Linked DNA regions of Homo sapiens: region 2 is linked to region 1. The links are contacts of gene promoters, found by promoter capture Hi-C in blood cells and fetal thymus (Javierre and others, 2016). All regions are on one chromosome and are shown on one strand. Each heading gives the region's core, a stretch centred on a gene start or on the middle of the fragment in contact. The rest is flanking DNA. Distances are from core to core; before and after follow the strand shown. Region 1 holds the start of ZNF142 (zinc finger protein 142). Region 2 overlaps LOC105373883 (a long non-coding RNA gene).

Region 1 (4,053 bases), core at 1,554-4,053:
TTTTTTTTTTTTTTTTGAGACAGAGTCTCGCTCTGTCACCCAGGCTGGAGTGCAGTGGCGTGATCTTGGCTCACTGCAACCTCCGCCTCCTGGGTTCAAGCAATTCTCCTGTCTCAGCCTCCCCAATAGCTGGACTACAGGCATGTGCCACACACGCCCAGGTAAATTTTGTATTTTTAACAGCGATGGAGTTTCACCATGTTGGCCAGGCTGGTCTCGAACTTCTGACCTTGGGTGATCTGCCCGTTTTGGCCTCCCAAAGTGCTGGGATTATAGGCGTGAGCCACCTTGCCTGGTCCCTTTCCCTCTTAACCTTTGATAATCTCACTATTCCTCAGCATGGATTATAAGGAAGGCCCTTCCTTCATCATCTGGCTCCTGCTGACCTCCCCTGACTCATCTCCCACTTCTCCCCTCAGCAGATCTCTGAACCAGATGATGTGCCATTCTCCAGACCCACCACATTCTCTTTTGCTTTCATACCCTCACAGCCTTTTGCGTCTCTTGGCTTGATATGCCTTTTCCCCTTCTCAATCTCTCTCTCTTATCTGGCTAACCAATTAACTATCCTTGAAGAAGCTGCACAAATGTCACTTCCACCATGAAGGCCTCCTGACATTCTTTTTTTTGAGACAGTCTTAGTCTGTCACCTAGGCTGGAGGGCAGTGGCACGATCTCAGCTCACTACAACCTCTGCCTCCTGGGTTCAAGCGATTCTCCTGCCTCAGCCTCCTGAGTAGCTGGGATTACAGGCATGTACCACCACGCCTGGCTACTATTTTGTATTTTTAGTAGAGATGGGGTTTCTCCATGTTGGTTGGGCTGGTCTTGAACTCCAGAACTCAGGTGATCCACCTGCCTCGGCCTCCCAAAGTGCTGGGATTACAGGCGTGAGGCACCGCGCCGGGCCTGGCTTCCCGAAACTCTTATCTTCTCTCTTCTGGCGTCCTAAGGGCACTCTGTACACAGCCCTATCAGAAACGAGGTCACACTGCACTGTTGTTTACCTGTCAGTCTCTCTCCCTAGATGTATAGCTTTTTTAGTAATTTGTTGACATTATCACTTCAATGATATTACTTTGTGATACTGACATTATCACTTCAACGAACACAAATCACCCACAATCGAAGATTCCAGTGAAGAACCACAGATATGGAGCTGCATTGGAGTAAAGCTAGGTATCTTGTACAAAACCAGTGGTTCCTCACCTATAACGTAACACATTTGGAGAAATTTCAAACTCATTAACTGACTATGGCCTCAAACTAAATATGGGAACATAACTGAGGAATGAATGACAATTGAATTGCATACCCTGTTATACATGGCTAAAATGAGTTTAAGCTGAATAATTAGTAATTAATAAGAATGATGGGAATCACTTCATGAAATTGAGTCACAGACAAGATGCAAAAAGAAAAAAAGAAGAAGAAACCAGGCCGGGCGCGGTGGCTCAGGCCTGTAATCCCAGCACTTTGGGAGGCCAAGGCGGGCCGATCACCTGAGGTCAGAAGTTCGAGACCAGCCTGGCGAACATTGTGAAACCCTGTTTCTACTAAAAATACAAAAAATCAGCAGGGTGTGGTGGCACACGCCTGTAATCCCAGCTACTCGGGAGGCTGAGGCAGGAGAATCGCTGGAACCCGGGAGGCGGAGGTTGCAGTGAGCCGAGATCGCACCATTGCACCCCAGCTTGGGCAACAAGAGCGAAACTCCGTCTCAAAAAAAAAACAAACAAAAACCAAGATCCTGCAATCTGATAGTCCCTATTTCCAGAATCCCATGGACTCAAAACAACAGATCACAGGGATTCACAAGGTGGCTGGAAAGTGCACTCCCGTGGTCAGAGGGATTCTCTGGAAACTGCAGCCTCCACTTACTGAATATTATCGCTGTTCTGGGGAATCTTCAAGCTTGACCATACATGGCCTCCGGGGGGAGCCAAGGAGGACGCTGAGCCGTCAAGATTAAGAACCTTCACCTGCGGGAGGGCAGGGTGAGGTAGGAGACAGGTGGGCACCAGAGAAGAAATACGCTTATCTTCCGGGCAGGAGGGCTGAGGAAGAGAAAGGACAGACTAAGGCAGAGAGAAGGCCTGGAGAAACAACGGGCCCCGGCCTAGCGACCCAGGTTCCCACCTGCCTCTGGCTCTGACTCACCGCGTGGTCTTGGACAGACACAGTCGCTTCGCTTCTCTGGGCCTCAGCTTTCCTATCTGTAAAATGGAGGTGATGACAGTGTCCACATCGTCGGGCAGGAGCTGGATCATAAGAGCCAGCGAACTGGAAAGGCGGTTTGTAACCTGGAAGGCTTGGGATGGAGCATCGTCATGATTTTGTCCTGAGAGCAGCAGGTACCCGGGCGGGGTCCAGAACCGTGACGCGACTGCAGCGCCGGGGCCCAGCTCGTCTGGGTGCTCCCTTCAGTACCTCCTTCCGAGAGTTCCCAGCGCCCAGGCCCACCCTGATCCCGGGGCTCGAAAAACTTTGCCTCCAGCTCGCTCCACCCGCATTCCCTTCCCAGTTCCGCCCCGCAGCCGCTCACTCACCTCCAGACCCAGAGCCGGCGGGAGCCGCATCTCTATGGTCGGCCGCGGCTGGAACGGCCCCCGGGGCCCGCTTTGTGCGACCGCCTCCGGCTCAGCCGCCTCTAGGATATTGGGGATGTGGAAGCCACTCTCTCTTCCTCTTGCCGGCTGCCGGGGTACTCTATGTTTTGTCTCTGTGGTTTTTCCCGCCCTCCACCCCCACTCCAGCCCTGAAGCCGGAGAAGCACCATCGAGAGCTCTGGGGTAGAGTGGCGTGGGCTTCTCTGTGGGTGTGGCGGGAAGTAGATGAAAGGACCCGGGGCGGGGCCGAACGCAGCTTCCCCAAGGTGCAGGCGCGGTGAAACCATCGAGACGGAGGGCCAGAGAGTCACGGCGGTGAGAGGGCTGAGTGACGGGTTACCCCAAACCATGTGGCTGGAGGCGCGAGCTGGGGTGTGGGCGAGGTTCAGGAGGGGGTTCCTGGGTGTCGCGGAGGGGCCGGGGACGGGAGAGCTTTGTCTGTGGCCTTCCATGCATAGGTGTTTTGGAATTCTGGATCCCAGTTCTGAGGCTCAGCCGAGGTCACTGCTGTCAGCTCACCTCCCTGCATGCCAGGCGCAGGGCAAAGTGGCCGGGGTTCGGGGTTGGAGGAGAGGTGTACTAGAAACAACTTTGCTCTTGTCCCTCAGGATCTTATTGTCTACGATGTGACGATCCGTGGAGAAAGTAGCAGATGGGCAGATTTTCATTTGGGGAGAATGAGGGAGAAAAGAACGGGCATTCCGAGCCAAGAGCACTGCATGAGCAAGGAGTTGGGAGGTTGCTTACTTGTTGAACATATTTGTTGCGTATTTGCATATTTGCTAAACAGGTAGTGTTAGGAGCTAATCCATGAAAGGTAGGTGGGCGCCGTATTGTAGAGAGCCTTGAGTACCAGGCTGAGTTTATACCCAATTCAGGGGTCTGCTGGGAGCCAGCCATTGAAGGTGCTGGAGCAGAGAGAGATATGGTATTGGAGCTGATCCCTATGATGAAAGATCTGGACCCTTGTGTAGATGTTCCGTGAAGCAGGAGGTGAAGACCTATTAAAATGCCATTTCAAGAACTACGATTTTAAAGACAGTTTAGGTGGGAGGTAATAAAGGTCTAAACAAGACGTTAAATATTGGGGACGTAAGGGGGAGGATATTTGAAGGACATTACTCATAACAAGACATAGGGTTACTGACAAGTCAACGGACGCTTCTCCCTTGCTGACTGCAGCCAATGGACCCCTTTTTATCATAGCTGGTCCCAGGGACCACAAAAATCCTGTCCATCCATTACCCTGATGTGAAGCCTGTTTATATAGCTCTTTTTGGTTTAAGGCATCTCCAGACATGGTCCTCTGGTAGGAAACAGGTATGAGTAGACTAATGAAGGACAAAATGGGATGAGGGACCTGGAGCCTCCACCCTTGCATTCCAATACCACCCTTACCCCACAAAAGGAGGGTATTGACCCACACAGTAATGCTGACCTGTGG
Region 2 (4,053 bases), core at 710-3,209, 700 kb after region 1:
TGAGTTGAATTCTAGTTCCTTTCAGCTTCAGCCTCTCTGGGTTTGTAGATTTCGGCTATGCCCCAAGGTTTCAAGGTGAAAGACCTTGAAACCCAGAAGGGCAGAGAGGCCTGGTCTGGTAGAGAATCAGGAGCAGAATCCAGGAGACCTGCCTTACAGCTCACCAGGGGGAAGGTGTGAGACAGCCCACCTGACCCCAGGGAACAAAGGCTGCCCACCTTGATAGGGAGAGGGTGGGCCACCATGCCTGTGCCTCTTCTTGGATAGCCAGTGGGGATGGTGCTATCATTGCACTGAGGCCTGCAAGACTCAGGCCACCACCCTTTGTCGGGAAACAAGGTCTTCCCTCAAGGACAGGATCACCTCTGGTGGGAATCTCCTAGAGAAGAGGCAGCTCCTCAGGCCAGGCACGGTGGCTCACGCCTGTAATCCCAGCACTTTGGGAGGCCGAGGCGGGTAGATCACAAGGTCAGGAGTTCAAGACCAGCCTGGCCAACATGGTGAAACCCCGTCTCTACTAAAAGTACAAAAATTAGCTGGCCATGGTGGCATGTGCCTGTAGTCCCAGCTACTCTGGAGGCTGAGGCAGAAGAATTGCTTGAACCCGGGAGGCAGAGGTTGCAGTGAGCAGAGATTGTGCCACTGCATTCCAGCCTGGGTGACAGAGCAAAACTCCATCTCAAAAAAAAAAAAAAAAAGAGAGAGAAGAGGCAGCTCCTCCGAGATGGGTCAGAGCTCTATGGGGAGCCCCAGGTGGGCATCTAGATGGTGAAGAGCCCAAAGACTCTAGAAGTGGGTTCTCGGGACTTGCGCATGCGTACATGTGTTTATATGTGTATACATGTGTTTATATGTTTGTGCATGGGTGTTGTGTCCATGTGTTTATATGTGTGTGCATGTGTTTGTATGAATCAATGTGTACTGTATGCATGTGTGTTTGTGTGTGCGTATGTAGGTTTGTATGTGTGGGAGATGTATTTGTGTATGTAGATGGGATGTGTGTGTCAATGTGTATATGTGTACATGTAGTGTACTTGTATTCATTGTCTATTACTTTTTTTAAAAATCCAGTTTTAGCAAAGAATATCTATGGCTTATTGCTACATGACAAATTACCCCAAAGCTTAGTCGCTTAAACTATAAACATCTATTTCACAGTTTCTGTGGACTGGGAATCTGAGAGAGGCTTAGCTGGGTATTTTTGGTTCAGGGTCTCTCTTGAAGTTGCAGTGAAGATGTTACTCAGGGTTGGCTGTAGTCTTCTGAAGGCTTGCGTGGGGCTAGAGGATCCACTTTCAAGATGACTCACCCTCCTGGCAAGACGATGCTGGCTGTTGGCAGGAGGTCTCAGTTCCCTACCACATCAGCCTCTCCATATGGCTGCTTGAGTGCCTCATGACACAGCAGCTGGCTTCCTCTGGAGTGAGTGACCTGAGAGAGAGAGAGAACCAGGCAAAAGCCACAGTGTTTTTAAAACCTAGCTTTGGAAGTCCCATGCCATCATTTCTGCCATATTATACTGGCCACAGAGACCAACCCTGATACACTGTGGGAGGGACTACACAAAGGCATGAATTCCAAGAGGTAAGGATCACTGGAGGTCATCTTGTAGGATGGCTATCACATGCAGTATGTGCGTGTGGGTATGTGGGGTGTGTGTTTGTGGGTGTGTACATAAAGATGTGTGTGTTTGTGTATATATGTGTATGTTTTTGCATATGTATATATGGATATATAGCAATATGTTTGTGTGACATGTATCTATGTATTGTCTGCATATGTGTATGCATGCATTTATGTATATGTATCTGTGTATTGCACATGTGTGTTTTTTGCGCACGAGTATGCATGCATGTATTATGCCTACATGCATGTCTCTGTGTTTGTATGTTGTGCATGTGTGCATATATGTGTATGCCTTTTTGTATGTATTTGTAGTATGTGAATGAGCATATGTATGCATGTGTGATGGGTTTGTATATGTATCCAGGTGTATATGTGTGTCTATGCCTGTGGCTGTATATGTTTGCAAACATTGTATGTGCATGTGCACCTGTGTTGTGTGTGTGCATGTATGCTTACATGTGTGTGTTTCTGTATAGATGTCCATGTGTAAGTCCGCATGTGTCTGTTTATGTGTGTGTAGGTGTATATATGTTACGTTTATGTATGTGTGTGAGGTGTATGTGTGTAGGTTTGAGAATATGTGTGTGCATTACTATGTACATATTGCACTTGTATATATAAATGTGTGCTGGCACATGCATACAAACTTAGGAATGTCACCTGCTGTGGGAGGAAAGCCTGGAGTCAGGAGTGGGGAGACTCAGGGAGGAGTCCCTATTATTCCTGGGGTAGCCCATGAGTGGAAGGCTCTGGAGCCTGGAGAGCAGGCTCTCCCTTGCATTTAGGATATGTGGATCCATGGTCCTCTGCATCTGGCTTTCCTTTGTCAAGGCTTTCTGTTGTTGTTCATTTTTGTTTGAACATTTCAGTCTTTCCTAAGCTGTCAAATAAAGCAGCAGAGAAAGGGTGGTCTCTATTGCCTGGAAGTTGAGAGTTCAGTGTAGACTAGTGCCCCTTTGGGGCTGGCCTGGGGAAAACAAGGGGATTTCCCTGGAGAGCACGGCTGACCCTCCCTCTCATCTCTTCTCGCCTAGGGCCACTCTGGGAGCTTCTGGAGTTTATTGGGCAAGAAGGGAGGGCATTTCTTTACTTCTAATAATCCAGTCATCTTAGGAGCCACTCTTTTCCTCTTTCCATTTAGAATATTTCTGACACCAACTTTTGTGTTTAGAAGCTTTTATGCTTTTTTTTAAAAAAAGTATTTTTACCTTTTGATTATGAAAGGTAATACATATGAACAGAAGTAGACAGAATGTAAAGATACAGCTCAACAGATTTTCAGAGTGAATAGCCATTTATACTATCCAATAAGAGGGTTCAGGACATGCCACCCAGAAACATGGCACACTGGCATGTTGAATATTTTAAGCTGGAAGGATCTGAGAAACAGCATGTGCAGGACAATCTCTCTGACTTCCCTGATCCTTCTCTCCTGAAGGGATCTCCCTGATCCTTTCCCCATGTGAAAGGTGTCCTTCCTCCAAAGATGGGGACACAGACAGGAATCTGAACACATGGGCCTTGTTAAGTCTTTTGGGTAAATAAAATTAGTTTTAAGATTGTTGGCAGGCTGGGCGCAGTGGCTCACACCCCTAATCCCAGTGCTTTGGGAGGCTGAGACAGGAGCATTACTTGCGCCCAGGAGTTTGAAACCAGCTTGGACAACATACTGAGACTTGGTCTTTACAAAAAGTTTAAAAAGTAGGCCGGGCTTAGGGGCTCACGCCTGTAATCCCCGCACTTTGGGAGGCCGAGGTGGGTGGATCACTTGAGGTCAGGAGTTCAAGATAAGCCTGGCCAACATGGTGAAACCCCGCCTCTACTAAAAATACAAAAAATTAGACTGGCGTGGTGGCAGGCGCCTGTAATCCCAGCTAGTTGGGAGGCTGAGGCAGGTGAATCCCTTGAGCTTAGAAGTTCAAGGCTGCAGTGAGCTGTGTTCACACCACTGCAATCCAGTCTGGGCAGCAGAGTGAGACCTTGTTTATATAGATTAAAAAAAAAAAAAGCCAGGTACAGTGGCTCACGCCTGTAATCCTAGCACTTTGGGAGGCCGAGGCAGGTTGATCACAAGGTCAGGAGTTCAAGACCAGCCTGACCAACATGGTGAAACTCCGCCTCTACTAAAAATACAAAAATTAGCTGGGCGTGGTGGTACACACCTGTAATCCCAGCTACTCAGGAGGCTGAGGCAGGAGAATCACTTGAACTCAGGAGGCGGAGGTTGCAGTAAGCCAAGATGGCTCCATTCCATTGCACTCCAGCCTGGGTGACAGAGCCAGGCTCTGTAAAAAAAAAAAAAAAAAAAAAAAAAAAAAAAAAAAAAAATTGTTGATAAAATAAAAGCAGAAATGTCTTTGGAGTTGTCAGCATTAAATAGAATGCAGAACTACAATTTTATTTTACCTGGGTTTACTGGTCAAACAA

What was found. The method cuts DNA at HindIII sites, captures the fragments that hold promoters and counts their contacts. A CHiCAGO score of 5 or more calls a contact.
Region 2: a fragment that was not itself captured here is called in contact with the fragment with the promoter of ZNF142 in region 1 in 1 of 17 cell types (total B cells); the score reaches 5.7 in total B cells.

The regions. Positions count from the first base shown.
Region 1 is chr2:218,656,820-218,660,872 of GRCh38, forward strand. It overlaps ZNF142 (zinc finger protein 142), which reads right to left and starts at 2,804. Exons shown (of 11, transcript NM_001379659.1): 1 at 2,550-2,804; 2 at 2,161-2,311; 3 at 1,882-2,057. It overlaps BCS1L (BCS1 ubiquinol-cytochrome c reductase complex chaperone), which reads left to right and starts at 2,864. Exons shown (of 8, transcript NM_001079866.2): 1 at 2,864-2,924. RefSeq lists enhancers at 1,928-2,047, 2,858-2,987. The HindIII fragment of the contact is 10,571 bases long and covers 1,913-4,053 here.
Region 2 is chr2:219,361,378-219,365,430 of GRCh38, forward strand. LOC105373883 (a long non-coding RNA gene) reads right to left here. Exons shown (of 2, transcript XR_923917.3): 2 at 1,125-1,431. Among named protein-coding and RNA genes, the nearest start is that of DNPEP, 25 kb to the right of the region's middle. RefSeq lists an enhancer at 1,186-1,235. The HindIII fragment of the contact is 1,677 bases long and covers 1,122-2,798 here.